4 separate regions of the Homo sapiens genome follow, and regions 1, 3 and 4 are each linked to region 2. Evidence: promoter capture Hi-C in 16 types of primary human blood cells and fetal thymus (Javierre and others, 2016). All regions are on one chromosome and are shown on one strand. The core of a region is centred on a gene start or on the middle of the fragment in contact, and the rest is flanking DNA. Distances in the headings are between cores, read along the strand shown.

The links. Contacts are between HindIII fragments. The CHiCAGO score rates a contact against its expected background, and 5 or more counts as called.
Region 1: a fragment that was not itself captured here is called in contact with the fragment with the promoter of DTHD1 in region 2 in 9 of 17 cell types (activated CD4 T cells, naive CD8 T cells, M2 macrophages and 6 more); the score reaches 11.3 in activated CD4 T cells.
Region 3: a fragment that was not itself captured here is called in contact with the fragment with the promoter of DTHD1 in region 2 in 7 of 17 cell types (total CD8 T cells, activated CD4 T cells, naive CD8 T cells and 4 more); the score reaches 11.3 in total CD8 T cells.
Region 4: a contact is called between a fragment that was not itself captured here and the fragment with the promoter of DTHD1 in region 2, in 5 of 17 cell types (activated CD4 T cells, non-activated CD4 T cells, naive CD8 T cells and 2 more). The highest score is 8.0, in activated CD4 T cells.

What each region holds. Positions count from the first base shown.
Region 1 is chr4:36,398,030-36,402,217 of GRCh38, reverse strand. No RefSeq gene overlaps it. Among named protein-coding and RNA genes, the nearest start is that of MIR1255B1, 26 kb to the left of the region's middle. The HindIII fragment of the contact is 2,285 bases long and covers 514-2,798 here.
Region 2 is chr4:36,279,906-36,283,753 of GRCh38, reverse strand. DTHD1 (death domain containing 1) reads right to left here and starts at 2,138. Exons shown (of 10, transcript NM_001170700.3): 1 at 1,725-2,138. The coding sequence starts at 1,995. The HindIII fragment of the contact is 1,630 bases long and covers 1,431-3,060 here.
Region 3 is chr4:36,209,036-36,213,181 of GRCh38, reverse strand. It overlaps ARAP2 (ArfGAP with RhoGAP domain, ankyrin repeat and PH domain 2), which reads left to right. Exons shown (of 33, transcript NM_015230.4): 5 at 695-786; 6 at 2,439-2,792. Among named protein-coding and RNA genes, the nearest start is that of ARAP2, 33 kb to the left of the region's middle. The HindIII fragment of the contact is 3,759 bases long and covers 1-3,514 here.
Region 4 is chr4:36,160,737-36,164,842 of GRCh38, reverse strand. It overlaps ARAP2 (ArfGAP with RhoGAP domain, ankyrin repeat and PH domain 2), which reads left to right. Exons shown (of 33, transcript NM_015230.4): 12 at 3,293-3,378. Among named protein-coding and RNA genes, the nearest start is that of ARAP2, 82 kb to the left of the region's middle. The HindIII fragment of the contact is 2,360 bases long and covers 238-2,597 here.

The sequences.
Region 1 (4,188 bases), core at 407-2,906, 120 kb before region 2:
ACTCCATCACCCTGTAGCCATCCCATACTGGTCGATAAAACTGAGAGACACCTGTGAAGTTCACAGTCTAGGGACACAAGCTCACTAAAAGACTGAGACATAATCACAGGACTCTAGAATACTAGCTAACCCCCAACACCTTACCGGCACATCACTAAAGGCCTATTTACTAGAGTTCCTTTTACCCACTACATCACAAGAAATTATAAGGCATACTCATAAAAAAGCATGAAATCATGTCCTTTGCAGCAACATGGATGCAGCTAGAGGCCATTATCCCAAGCAAATTACTGCAAGAATAGAAAACCAAATACCACCTGTTCCCTCTTATAAGTGAGAGCTAAACATTGAGTACACAGAGAACAATAAACATCAGGGACTACTTGAGTGTGGAGGGTAGGAGAAGAATGAGGGACAAAAAACTACCTACCAAGTGCTATGCTTACAACATGAGTGATAAAATCATTTGTATACCAAACCTCAGTGACACACAGCTTACCCATGTAACAAGCTTGCACATGTACCCTGCAAACCTAAAATAAAAAGGTGAAGAAAAGGAAAGTAAAAATGCCCTAATGCTAAAAAAAAAATAATAATTACAAGGCATACTAAAAGGCAAAAAACACAGTGTAGACAAGGAAGTCATCAGAACCACTCTCAGACATGGCTGCGATATTGGAATCATCACACTGGGAATTTAAAATGATAATGATTAATGTGCTAAGGTGTCTAATGGACAAAGTACACAACATGTAAGAAAAGATAGGTCAGGTAAACAAAGAGATGGAAATGCTAAGAAAGAATCAAAAGGAAATGCTAGAGATCAAGAACACTTTAACAGAAGGAAGAATTATTTGATGGGTTCATTAGGAGACTGGACGTGGCTGAGGAAAGAATCTCTGAGCATGAGAATGTGTTAATAGAAAATTATAAAACCAAAATGTGAAGAGAAAAATTACTGAATAAATGGAACAGAATATCGAATAACTATGAGGCAATGACAAAAGATGTAGCATATGTGTAATGAGAATGCTAGAAAGAAGAGTCATGAACAGAAGAAACATTTGAAGTAATAACAACTGATAATTTCCCTCAAATTAATGTCAGACACCAAACCACAGATCCAGGAAGCACAGAGAAAACCAAGCAGGATAAATATCCAATAATTTGCACCTAGCCTGAAAATAAAAGGTCAAGAAAAATCTTGAAATGAGTCAGAGGAAAAAAAAAACAACTTGCCTATAGAGGAGCAAGATAAAAATTACATCTGACATCTCAAAAATCATGCAACCAAGAAGAGAGTGGAGGGAAATATTTAAAGTGCTGAAAGAAAAGATACATCAACCTAGAATCCACTACCCTGCAAAGTTATCCTTGAAAGTCAAGGAGAAATGAAGTCTTTCTCAGACAAACAAAACTGAGGGAATTTGTTAACAGTAGATCAGTCTTACAAGAAGTTATTTAGAGAGAAAAAACGTGACACAGCTCAGGAACTCAGATCTGCATGAAAAACGGAAGAGGATTAAAGAAGGAATAAGGGAAGATAACAGAATTTTCAGTTTTCTTATTCTCAATTGATCTAACAGATAACAATTTGTTTAAAATAATAATAGCAACAATGTATTTGATGATTATAGCTTACGCATTAGTGAAATAAATGACATCAATGATACAAGGGATGGGAGGGAGGAATTAGGAATATTTTCTTATTATAAAATACTTGCACCACATACAAAGTAAAATAATTTTATTAGAAAATAATAATGAATTACTCTTACTGCTCTTGTTCAACCTCTTCCCTCTGCTCAGAATGTCCTCCCAGTCTCTGGTCTAAATGGAAAACATCTCCTCTTCCCTTAAAACCCTAAGAAACATTACCTCTTCTATAAAATTTTTCCTGGTCTTCCTTCCCAGCCATCTATTATGTGGAAATACTTTGATTTCTTTCTTTCCGTTGATTTTTCCACATTGTATGTAGATGTCTACATTAGTGCATATTTCTCTGTGTTGTATTTTTCTGTTAGGAATAAGGTTTACTTATTACTAATCTTTATACCCCAAGACTTTAGAAAACTGTAAAGTCACATATATATAGAAGTTATTATTGATATACTGCTAAGACTGCACTAGGGTTTCTTGAGTGTATCTCTTTGGGACAGCCCCCACTTATATTTTCCTATGAAATGCTAGACATAAAAGAGAAGCTCAAAGTCCAATTGCCTGAATTAAGAAAAGTACTGCGATGATGACTTTTGTCACCAGAGGGCATCACTGGCTCAGCAGCTGCTTCTCTAATGCTAAGACATTTTAAAACTTTGTATTTAAGGTTCCTTGACTAAGTCAAAAAAGTATTTATTGAACATATAGCTTGTGCCAAGAAATGTTCTAGGTCTTGGGAAATACAGCAATAAATAAAAGTGACAAGGTTTCTCTGTTTGATCTTGTTTACATTTCACTCAAAACTGATGGTTGGAAACAGCCTAAATTCTGTCAGTCTTAAGAATCTAAACTTGCCTAGATTTTGTTTCCAGTGTGGGAAACTGGGTTAGTTTTGAGTTCTCCTTTGGTCACTCAGTCAATAAATACTTACTGAAAGCCTACTATGTGCTATATTTGGATTGAGTATTCGATAGACATGACAAGGTGGCCTTAGCTTTCATGGAAGTTACAATATAGTAGAGAACACAAAAATTAATTTTAAAATGTCCATTTGTGGCCAGTGATAAAAACGTAAATAAATTACAAGGTGACTTGTACAAGAGGGTAAGCCAATTGTTTTTTAGAGTTTAGGGAAAGCTTTTTTGAGGAAAGAGAACGTAACTCCACCACCACCACCAAGACGAAGGATGAGCAGAAATAACTTGGGGAAGAATTTCTATGAGGATGTTCTAGAGAGAAGTAACTAGAAAGATTCTAATAAAATATGGCATGATGCCAGAATGAGGGAAGAACTGTCTAGTCACAAAGAGAGTTTGGCATAGCATAGTAGCTACATAGGAAGCTGTACTAACTTTTCTTTGTGATGATCTGGGATATGCCTGCTAATCTGGCGCTTTACCTAATGTCATCTCAGCCATACAACAGCCTCACGACACATGTAGAACCGTAAGAGTTTGGGACAAGACTGAGGGTGTCACTGAATGAAATATGGTAAATCTCATTGAGTTTAAATAGAAGACTAGCTTCTATAGTAACAAGATATGGAATAAACAGCCAATAAAATAAAAAATGTACAAAAAATTTACAACAAAAAATGCATTATAACACCAGATAATTCAAATTAGTTCCACTTTAAGTAAGAATAGTCATTAATCATCTCAAAGGTACTGGAAATTAAGGATAAGGCCCACAAGAAACCAAAGTACTCTCATGTATTTGAAGAATGAGACATGACATTTTAGGTATATTTAGCTAGCTTCAAGAATGAAAAAAATAAATTTGTTACATTTTTGCTTTTTTAAAAAAAAAAATACACCCAAGAGATCACCCTCTTCCAAACAGGGAAATCTCTGTTGTAAATAAAATACATTATTAAACTTGCATGTTTTTTTCTCATTGACTTCCTTGGAAAGTGATTTGAGAACTAGATGAAGTGAGAAGAAAAATTAAAAGGAAATATAAGAAGAAAGAATTTAAGAAAGCTAGATAAGAAAATAAAATAATGTCAAAACAGAGATAAGGAGAATACAACAGTTGTACATATAATTAACTAGTAGAATTATTAACCATCTATCGAAGAGCTAGTAAGTGCCAAATACTGGATTAAAACATGAAAAGAAAATAATTACAACAATTTTTAAAAGTAATAATATTGTCTTCTTGTCTCCAGAATATTCCAGATATCAGAAGGGCAAGAAACATAAAAATAATTGTGATGCAACATGATGAATTCTATAATCCAGGAAAGTATAATATAAGGTAGCTGTAAGGAGAGACTGAAATGAAGAGATACACTACTGTTACTTTTGTCTGTTTAGCATTTCTTTTCCTTTCTTTCTCTGGTGACCAAGCTAATATTTTCTGGGGCGAAACAATTTCATGTGGTTCTATGGAGCCAAAGACGAGACAAACAGGGCTTTTAAGAGGTCTTGTGACAGTAATTAGTTCAATGATGATCATGTTATCCAAGCCGCACTAATTTGCTTTTTTGTGAACTTTTCTTCAATTGCTATCTTAAAGACTATTTTT
Region 2 (3,848 bases), core at 889-3,388:
AGTAAATCTAATCCCTCTTGCTTATAAAGATACTTCGAATATTTAAAGACAAATGTCATAACCTCTTGCTCCCCCAATAAGAACTGAAGTCAACATCTCCCTCAATTGTTTTTCATTTGGTATGATTTTGAGAACTCTTCTTTTACCACTGGATGTACAATAGTTTATCAATGATCCATTTAAAATGCTGGGCTGAAAATTAGGCGAACACTCCAGATGAGGCTTGGGTGGCAGAAACACCATACCTCCATTATTTCTGCCAATGTAGATGCTTTGTTTTGGAGCCTAGTTTACTGCTATAAGAATTGGATTAGGTTTATACTATTCCTCCTGATGAATTTGTGAGCATTGGAAATTTTCAAATTAGTCCTTCAGAGAATAGCTCTGACCATACCAATTCTCTGATTGGAACCTGAAGTGGCTACTCAAAGCCTACTAACTCAGGTCAACCTTCTTCACTCTGAAGTAAACTCTTAGCATGATCAAATCTTATATAATCTCTCACTCCGTCATCATTCTTCCCACTCTCCTATTTGTTCATCCTGCTTCTCCTCACTACTGAGGTCACCTGATGACTTCTTGCAGGCTTAGTACCTCTCTAGTCTTTAGAATTCAGTTCTGAACTAAAGAATAGGTAATTTAAGGCCCCATAGCTTAGTGTTTTTAAAGCCATCACCAAATCATCCCTTCACCAGTCAGGGCTTTTCTTTGGGATCCAGTTCTGACAACTTGTGTTTTGTTTTGTTTTGTTTTTGTCTTATACCTGAGAACTTGTCTTTATTTTTAACTCCTATTCTGGTAACCAAGTCCTTGTTTTTTTCTGAATATATATTTGCTTGTTATATTGCCAAAGACCATGTTCCACTCCCTCCAGAGGCTAAAGGTCTCATTGTGGGCTGCAGCTGATGGCTTCTCAGTCATGCTGCCTTTAGACAGATTTCCCTGATGCCCACTATTTGCCCTTTAGATTGAATTTCTTAACATCATCTACCCTGGATTTCCTCATAGATGGAACCTGCCCACTTATCTTGATACTGTATTATTTAGAGTTGAATTTCATGATGCCACCTATATGCTTATCTGGAGTAACTGTTGTTATCTAGGATTATATTCATCAGATTCCACATTCTTCCTGCCTTACTGTACTTTTCCACATCCATAACTGGACCTATTCCCAAGAATCCCTCTCCAGCCCCAGTGCATGGGGATCCAATTCCCTATCCCAACCCACTCCAGTCTTCCCAGTAATTTTGCAATCAATAAGGCTAAGCTCAAATGACCCTAGAGATAGAATACTATATTCTGATATAAAAAACAAACTACTAGCTCTGCCTCAGTGGCCTGTATTTTCCTGTCTCTAAGTCTTGGATCCTACTAAAATTACCGACTCTCTCTTTCCTGCTGCATAAATCCAATTCACTCTTTAAGCTTCAGCTTAAATACTACATTTTTCTAGCAAACTTCTCAATTCCCCACCCTACAGATGGGATTTAAACTGCTTCTGAAGTCCAAAAGCACTTCATTCATGTGTTTCTAATGGGACTGGCCCCAATGTCCCTGGCATTATTGTGCATTTGTCTCAACTTATTTCCCCTTTGAAATTGTTAGTCTCTTGTGGACAGAAACTCTATCTTAGCCTATCTGGTATACTCATAGCCCCTCTCAGATCTTGCCCTAATCAATATTTCTTAGAGAAAGAATAAACTAAAAAAAAGAATACTTGCCTTTTCTCGAGACACATTGATTCTCTTTGTCAAGCAGCACATGCAGCTGCTGGCAGGTGGAACGCAGGGTGCCTGAGGTGTGCTCCAGCAGCTGGTGAAGGGCACTGCTGAGTTCCTGACCCAGAAAGACCACAGTGGCCATCCAAGTGGCCCCACCAGCCCCCTCACAAAGGTCATCACCCAAGAGTGCCTGCTTTAGCATCTGGTTTTGTCTCCAAATCTGCTTCAATATTTGGCCCAGTTTACCTGAGCCCATGTATTCCATATCCATTTTATGATCCAAAAGTGGTATTTTCTCTCCTGCCAGCAAAGCCTAAAGGTTTTGCAAATTCAAACTTTGTGATTGTTATTTCTCCTAAACTCTAGGAGATGATCCGAGTCAGCTAGCCCAGCACTTTCTCACAACATAGTGGTTATTCAGTTTGGTGTTGACTAGTGAAAAGTTACTAGGTGACCGAAGAAGGGGCGTTCCTGTACCATGGGTGCTACTGTGTACAGAATACATTAATCACTGGGGTAGAGCTGACTCACATGATCCAACTCTCTGTGTAAGTTTTACAAATTCAATATACTGTGGAAGTACCAAATACTTTTCAAGTTTTGAGGCAACAAAATACAGATTCCAGGTAGGGTAAGAAGTTTATTAATCAAAGGTAAACTGTATGAACAATATTGCTGGCAGGATTCCTGTAAACTTAAAAATATTTATGAATGAAATAATGTGATGTCTGATTTTGCTTCTAAATAATCAGGGAGCATAGGGGTGGGTAGAGGTATAAAATTTGCTGTAAGAATTAATAAATGTTGAAGCTGGATATGTTTACACATGGGGTCTTGACAATTCACTCTAATTAATGTGTATATGTATAGTATTTTTATAACCAAGAGTTTAAAAAGATTCCTCTACTGGAGCAGAGCCTATTGCATTGGTTAGGAAGTTATAATTAGCATCTTCTTATGTGGTAAATCTGCAGAGACTGAGATAAGAACTTGGCCTCTGATAATTTCCCTCTAATTGGATAAAATGCCCCTTCACTGAAAGAAAGTAAACCTGAAGAGTAGCTTTCTCTAAACTAGCAAGGATTCTTTACCATATGTAATTAAAATTCAGATACAACAAGCTCTCCCCACTGCTGCCCATCTGCCTGCCAGCGCATCATATATGGGGCTATGCAATGCAGCACTTGCGGGTATTTGGAGGAAACCAGAACAGTCTGCCTCCCTCTCTCCAATCCCACTGCTCAGAGAGAACACACACCTAAGCCAAAGGAAGAGGGCAGCAAGTACATTCCAGAGAGGCTCATGTTCCCTCGGGTACTGGAACAAAATGAAAGCTTTTCAAGTGGAAGCCGGAGTGCTTCCCTCCCACAGGCAACACATTATCTCATCTTAAGCCCTGGAGTTCTAAGAGCTACACTCAGGGCACCTGGAAGACAAGATGGGAAAAACAAGCCCAGAGAATAAATAATGAAGAATGACTGCCACTGCCCTAAAGACTGTCAAAGACCCTGAAGGAAAGGAGCAGTATTGAGTACTGGTGGCTGCAGAGTGGAGAGGGGCTCCTTCACCACTAAGTGTCTTATTTTTCAGTTAACTTCTGTTCACTGAAAAGGGGACCTTTTTCGCAGTATGAGTTCATATCACTTCATGGATTGGATCATTTAAATCTTCTCAAACTAAAGACTCACTCATTCAATTCTATTTTCTTTTCTTACTCCTTAAATGGATGTGTCATTCTCAATAATAATGTACACATGGCTTTAATTCAATGCTAATTTTGAAAACTTCCTATAGCATTTACTGTGGGACAGGAACTAAGTGCTGGAGGTCAGGCCTTTTTAGGATTTCAAGAGACAGATGCATGAACAGATTATTGAAATAAAGCTTAGTCTGTGTTGAGAGCTAGAGCAGAAGTATAAAGAAAAAGTATCATAAAAGCTTTGAGGAGTTAAAAAAATAATTCTGCTTAGAGGCCTGGAAAATGTTTGAATTAGAAACTAAAGGATAAGCAGGCTATGGAGTAAAAGAAAAAAAATATTCCAGCATAGGAAATAATATGATCAAAGTCACGGAGGCATGAGATTACACAGTAGGATCAAAAATGTAAAAGTATGGCTTTGGAGG
Region 3 (4,146 bases), core at 386-2,885, 70 kb after region 2:
ACCTCTTCATTTTTCTCCAAGCTATTTGAAGAATGGCATTATATTGAAGATTGAAATTTCCAGTCAGCAAAATTTTTGTTCAGTAAAATTATGGTAAAATCTGTCTCTTTCAATATACATTATAGGAACACATGTTTATTATGACTTCAGGAATCCAGGATAGTGAGTTTTAAAAATTTGCCACAAGATTGGGTTAATTAAACAAAAGACAAACTGTATAAAACTTAAGCACTCTCTAGATTTTTGCTTTGCCTTGTAGCCAAGTGCAGACTTCTGAAGTGCATAGATTTCCAATTATGTATATATTTTAATTATTTAGTTTATCACTCATTCTTTTCTATTACTTGTGCTCTTTTGCTACTTTATTTCTTGGTCTTGATAAAAGAGAAGTTGGAAGACAAAAATGAATCAAGGAGTAAAAGTACATAAATTTTATTTTTGGTTACCATTTTCTTTTATTCTTACTTGAATTGATGAGTTAACGATTTGAATAAAATAGTGAAAAAAAAATCAAAAGTCTGTTTAATGTAGACTAACTTTTTTTTCTGAAAATTGATCTAAGTAATTAGACTTATTTAATAAAACTAAACTCAGATATTATGGATTTTTGTAGAATATTGCTACACATACAAACAAATCCCCAAACCAAAAAGCAAAACAGTATGTGTTTTTTGTTTGTTTGCTTTTTTAATAGAAGCGATCTATAAAGAATGAATTTTTGACCCAGGGAGAAGCACTCAAAGGGGAAGCAGCTACTGCAACAAACTCTTTTATCATCAAATCAAGGTATGAGATCATGATTGATGATGATTAACTATTTAGAATAAACTGTTATACAATGTTGACTTCTCATTCTTAGTATAATATTGTGTGTCAGAGAAAATAGTTTATGGTGATAAGTTCAATTTTTTCCTCTCTAAATGTAAGCATAGCAGCACCCATTTTATTAATTGAATTATGCTCTGTAGATCAAGTAAATAGTTGCATTCTGTGGCAGATTATTTTTGTCTTTTTCTAATGGAAACCACACCCCTTCCCCACAGTAGCAAATACAGGTGACTATGATTGCACATTAAAGATGAGAGGTTATGTTAATAAAAAGGAGAAAAGGGCAGTGCAGAACATCACTATGCAAGTTGCAGACTTTTACAAGTATAATATATTCTTTTTATTGGAGTTTCAGCACTGGCAAGAAGCATGACAATTATCCAGTTATTTGGATCACATACAGAGTTAGAATTTGTATGCACCAACTTCAATTTTGGTTTTCTCTCAGCTTTATTGGAACTTGGCATACTGGCACATTACCTGATACTTCATTTTCTTTTTCTTAATTTTTAATTTTTGAGATTACATAGTAGATGTATATATTTCTGGGGTACATAACATATTTTGATATAAGCATAATATAATCACATCATGGAAAACGGAATATTCATCCCCCAAAGCATTCCTCTTTTGTATTGCCAACAGTTTAATTATACTTTTTAGTGGGACATTCATTTTATTTTTGTCTTTCATTTTCTAAGGCTAACATTGTTATAGGTTTCCCTCAGTTAAAGCTAAACAATTAAACATCTTTAGTAAACATTTGACATAATCTAATATAATGCAAAATATGAAAGGGCCAGGCTAAATTATTCTTTGAGGCAGTAATGGTTTTTAGAATGCTATATCCAGAAAGATGTAATTTGAGCCCAGGCATATCTGTTTCATTGATTAGCAAAAAATGTCCTTTGGCATTAATGAATGAGTTGATCTATTATGTCATCCCTTGAATCTGTAGAAATATGCTTAGCTATTATGAATGCATTCCAATAAATATTGTGCATTACATAGCTTTTACTTCCTGAATGTACACTGACCCTTTCTTGCTTTCTAGCTAGCAGTGTGCTGCAATATTTTTCCTCATCAGCATTGCAAAATAATACTGATGCTCTCAGCAGTCAGGCATACTCTCTGTTTTATTGCATTGTGGTGAAACATGGGGTCCTTGGAGTTGATTAGAGGATAGTAGAGAGGGGTAAGCAAATTGGAAATAAGATCTCCATATAGATGAGTTAATGGTCCGTCATGTTGCCCAGAGGGATTGGGCTGGCCACTTAATTGTGCTATTAAAGATGTTTAAATTGTGATGTGAAGAATATACCCAGTCTGCATTCTTAGCACCTGCCCCTAACCTTCCAAAATAAAAGGGATAAGATTAAATTATACCTAAGAAAAAACTTGTAGTAGTATTCAGATGTCATAGGTTAATGAAATAATTTTACTTAGCTTTTCTGGAAGAGTTTAAAAAATTTTCAATAGGGTTAATGGAAACTCTAGGATTTTCCTGGCCTTATGTTTCTGTTATTAGTTATTTATAAATTTTCAAAATGTCACTGATGTCTTAAATCACATATAGCACTTTGAAATGTTTACATCATTTTTCCGTTTAGCATATACGATAACAGAAAGGAGAAAATAAGCGAGGACAAGGTGGAAGATATTTGGATACCTCGAGAGGACAAAAACAATTTTTTGATAGACACTGCTTCTGAATCAGAATACTCAACAGTAGAAGAATGCTTTCAGAGTTTAAGAAGAAAAAATTCAAAGGCATCTAAATCTAGGACTCAAAAAGCCTTGATTTTGGACTCCGTTAATAGGCACAGTTATCCGTTAAGCTCAACAAGTGGAAATGCTGATTCATCAGCCGTTTCTTCACAGGCAATATCTCCCTATGCCTGCTTTTATGGAGCATCTGCAAAGAAGGTTAAATCAGGATGGCTGGATAAACTCTCTCCTCAAGGGTATGTACGTATGCATTTATTTCATAAGTGGCATATTTTTAAAATTTCAAGTTTATTCATTTCTAAACCTCCAGGGTTGCTGTTCCCCCACTCCACCGCCACACACACACATACACAGAGATGCCATTTTTAGGGACTTTCAGCACACTTTTGCCAGTGCTATTCTTTAGACATAAGGAGAGAGATGTGCAATGCAATGCTGCATTAAGGTCCAGAGTCGCAAATTAAAATAGAAAGTTATGACCTCACATCTAATTTCTTAATGTTACCTTCTAAGTTCGCATCAAAATGTGCTAATCTGTGTCCCAGTATGTAACAAAGAAAAACAAGACAGACTGAGTTAGTATTACTCAGCCCACACTGTTTGGCTTTTGCTCATATCATAACAGTGTTCTGTTTGAGAATACAAGGCTTATTGTTGTTAGGGAAAAGTACATCTTTGTTAGGTTTAGGTCTTCACTATTATTGATATCTTATTTTGATTTTTGTATGTTACACAGAAGGTCAGAGTCCCGTGAATATTATACTTTTCTTTGGATTTATCAACAAATGTTTACAAAGAAACTTTTGTCCCTTAAGCATTTTACAGTACTGAGAAATCTTTAGGGAAGGATTATATTTAATTAGAATTGTTTACTGGCATCCTAATTTTTAGATGTCTTTTTGAAATATTTACTTGAAATGTTTTTCATGGATTATTAAATTCTTTTGAGATTAAAGCTTTCATGTATCAGTAGCTAATGTGGTGAGTCCCTACAGTGTGCTGGTTTTCACTCCTATTCTCTTGAAATGTGTGTCATTTCTAGAAAGGATTGGTTTGATCTAAAATAATTTTAATTGGAAAAAAAAACTACCAGAAGCAGCATCAGATGACTAGTAGAAGCAGGAATTAACATTTCAAAAGATAGCAAAACACCCCGAAATTGTATGGTTAGCAATTATATGTTAATACCTTATATATTTTCATTCTTTTAGGAAATTTGATTTTGAATAAACCAAAGCAGATTACTTCTTACTATCAGCTATGTGTGTCACTTCTTTCTGGTTACATTATGATGACAAAACCCTCTGCTTGTTCTTTTTAGTCCTAAGTATTATTGGTAAGTGCATATTCAGATGTCGAACATGTGGATCAGTGCTCAGGTCTAAACACTAGTGGAATGAATCAGTGAACTTGAATATTCTTGAATCTTTCATTTTTATAAAATCCAAGTATTTAGGGAGGTCCAAGTGCTCTCTTAAAGTATCACTGGAAGAAAAAACAGACTTTGAGTACAAAGCCCCCAGCGGCTGTGGTTTCCTGTGCGTCCCAGGTGAGATCTTGCTCTTTACAGGGTTGGTCTGTTTATGCTCC
Region 4 (4,106 bases), core at 168-2,667, 120 kb after region 2:
ATTATATATCCTAGCTAATGGTTATGAGAAGTAAAACCAGAGAAAGCTTATTACATTTAAATCAAATTCAGAAATATGAGTCTAAACTTCTCTTATGTATGACTTGGATATAAAAATGGATTTTTAAGCATGCAATCATATTTTATGCCTACTGGTCCATGTATAGATTTTAAAAAGACAGTGTTGAAAATTCTAGATTTTAGGTGAGTATGTTTTAGTATGGATCCTGAAGAAGCTTGCATCTTTAACTTGAAGATTTGTCCACCTTTCCCCAGTCATTTTTGGTAAGACATATTTTTCACCTCAGTGTTGTTTTGAGCACTAAACTTCATATGCCAGATCTGGTACCTCTTAAAATAAGAATTTTTATAAAGAAGCATTTCACAAGACTATTGATGTTTATGAATATAAACCAGTACTATGACTGGTTTTCTTCTTGTGACCTCACACTGGACAACCTGACATCTCAGTGTATTTGAGAGCTCAGACAGTTGCCCAAGTGAGTGGAAGGAAGTGGACCCCAGCTTAGGTGTGTGATCATGGAAGTTTTGAAGAAAGTTAACCACAGTCTAAACTTCAGTTATCCTGGACTGCCTGTGTCCCACCACCTTCTCCCCCACTGTATGTACACACACACATACACACACAAACACAGATGAGAGAGACAGAGAGAGAGAATTCAACTCAAGTACTAGGCACTGTGCTGGTGCGGGGAATTAAAAACATGTATAAGACATGACATTTCCTCCACAATAATGAGACAAATGTTGGACTAGAGTTGAATACAGGCTTCAGTGAGAATGCTGGAGAGGAGTTCCTACCTCAGCTAGAGCGCAGTGAGTAGTGCAGTCACAGGAGTTGCTTCAAATCCTGAACGCTTTTCTAGAGCACTATTCAACTGCATTTCTCATCAAACTAAGATAGATTTCCTCACCAGCTAATTAATAATATCAATCACAACAAAAAATGCCAGTGAATCACCTTCTACTTTGAATTTTATCCCATCCTTTTCTTCTCTCCAGTTTCATTGGAAGAGACGGCCTTTGTGCTGTTCACAGCTGTTTTTTTCTACCTTTGCTTCCTTTCTTTCTTCCCTCCTTAGGATACATGTTCGTCATTTATTCACTCTCTTATGTAAGTATTTAGCCATGGTTTCTTTTGTTTCATTGTATAAACTTGCACAAGTTTGTCTCATTACCACCATCAGGATTTCTAAAAGTTATCCATTTCCTTCTATGTGTCATTCTCTGTCCCCTTTTTCTTTCATAGACAAGATATTATGAAAAGTTGTAGTGTGCATAGGTTTTTTTTCATTCCTTTAACTTCCTAAGTTTTCTTCAGCATTCTGTAATCAGCTACCTTTTAACTGCTGATGAGCTACCTTTTCTCTCAACTGTGGTAAAAATCTTTTCACCACATTTACCAACGTATTTTACCTCTCAGTTTCGGTGTGGTCACTTACTATCTTTATTATTGTCTCTTTATTTGAGTGTCTCGACAACATGTCTCTCTATGACATCCATCCTCTCTCAGCTTCCAAGATACCAGTCTCTCTTTGTGTTCTTATTACCAGTCTTTTTTTTTCCAGTATTTTTTTTCCCATGTATTTCCATGCTTGTGAAATACATGTGTTCCCTTGGGTTACATTCTCACTTCTCTTTTACTGTGTTGCTCCTGAGTGATATTATTTATCACTTTAATTCCACACTCATTTTTAAGCAAATGATTCTCACGCTGTTGGACACCAAACTCTTATGATTATATGCCTACTAGAATCTCTACTTAGATTTGCCAAATACACCTCAAATGTAACATGTCAAAAATGGAGCCATCGTTGTTCCCCTCAGCCCATTTCATAAAACTGCACATTTTCATATATTCTCAATCTTGGTCAAAAGCAATACTGTCTACGCTGCACACTCAAAGCCTAAAATCTGAGACACCTTCTTGACTCTTCCTCTTTCCTTCAAACCCACCAAGTCTCATTCATTTTATCTTATCAATCTCTCTCAATCTGTCTGCTCCATTTTATTTTCCTGCTGCCTCAACTCAGAATCTGTCATGCCTAGGTTACTGCAGCAGTCCCTTTCATCTCTTCCTACAGGCTTTTAAGTTTTTACCTGCTGGGTACTGTATTGCCTGTAGGTAGTCATTATAAATGCAAACCTATGCAGATTTCTTCCAGGGGAATTTAGGGCTTTGTGCTTTGAATAGTTTCTACTTAAAAAAAAAAAAAAAGACAAGAACTTCTTACCTATTGTAGGGAAAGGAATGAACATTCGTTGTTCATTAGACAAAGGGCCCTTAAGATCAAGGATAGTGGACTGTACACTTTTTTTCCTTCTCAGCTTTGAAATAATCTGACATAGCCTGGTTGCTCAGTGATGACTGAATGATGATTTATACAGCACAATTGAATTGACAGTAATAAAATTCTGGGCTCTTACTTTCTTCCAGACATATTTGCTGAATAAAGTATTCATGTCAGATTTTTAAGTACACACTTATTAGACATGTAACTAGTTTTTCAATAGTCAAGTTTTTGTAACAGTAAAGAAATATTATCTGCATTTACATACGTGGGGTTTTAGCAAGCTTTACAAAAGGTTTTCAGTGGCCTATTTCTAGCTGATTACCAAATGAGGAAATATTTATACATGTGTCTGTACATATGCACTCATGCACATATATATATATATATATTTAAGTAAGTGTAGTTCTTTTTTTTTTTTTTTGAGACGGAGTCTCGCTCTGTCGCCCAGGCTGGAGTGCAGTGGCAAGATCTGGGCTCACTGCAAGCTCCGCCTCCCGGGTTCACGCCATTCTCCTGCCTCAGCCTCCCGAGTAGCTGGGACTACAGGTGCCTGCCACCTCGCCCGGCTAATTTTTTGTATTTTTAGTAGAGACGGGGTTTCACCCTGTTAGCCAGGATGTTCTCGATCTCCTGACCTCGTGATCCGCCCGCCTCGGCCTTCCAAAGTGCTGGGATTACAGGCGTGAGCCACCGCGCCAGGCCGTGTAGTTTTTTTTTTTTTTTTTTTTTTTTTTTGTCAGTGCAGATGCTGATGATGATTGCTGCTGTTTTTATTGTAGCCAGCTGCGATTTGTCTAATTCTCACCACTACTGTTAGTGCTCTTGTCATCTTGTTATTGAGGAAAGCAGGTATTGGTGTGTTTTAAGTTGAGAAGATACGCAACGAACATACACAGACATATGCACTTTCTTTCAAAACAAGGTAAAATAAATTTACATACAAATTAAAATAGAAATGCAATTGTGTTTTGACTCTAGGACAGCATAGATCTTTAGGACCAAAAGATTCCAAGGTTAGAAGTCTAAAAATGGATGCTAGCATTTGGAGCAATGAACTCATCGAGGTGAGTCCTATTTAACCTGAATGGGGTTGTGATAGGGGTTCAGTTTGCAGAGACTGGGAGGAGGTTTGCTGTGGGTTTGGGTGGCAGGAATTTTTCTCGGGGCTGTTTGATAAAGTTCTCACCACATTATGGAAGTGGCTTATAGCCTTTTTGATAGTAGTAACTCTTTGAGAATGCTTCCTAAATGAGATAGTTATTTTAAAAGTATAGAAGATCCTTAATAAGTACTTAGAAAGGTTTGCCAGCTTGTTTTTTTTTAATGCTAGAACTGTATATGTGTGTGTGTGTGTGTGTGTGTGTGTGTGTGTGTGTGTGTGTTTGTGTGTGTGTGTTTTAAACCCAACATGGGTAAAATAATAGGAGAGTGAATGAAAACATTTGGAAAAATTTACTGTTTTTACCTTGGCCGTACTCTGTCATTAACTGTGATGGAGGCTACTTTGCTGTGTCCTGTCTCCATTTTTGGCTCCTTGTTCCACCACCAAGCACTTCAGACAGCATTAGCCCACCTACTCGGCCATTTAAAGTGAAGCTGTCTCAGTTTGAGTGTCAAAGAATGAAAATACTTTTGCTACAATTTGTGTTGTTTGCAATTCTTTCCAAGCTAATTTTTCTCCATTATTTAGAGTGGGTAGGCTGTATTAAAAACTGATCATAGTATCTGCTTTCATACTTCCTTTTTCTGGAATAGTTGAGTCTTTCATGTGTTTTCCTGTATTTTATACTAA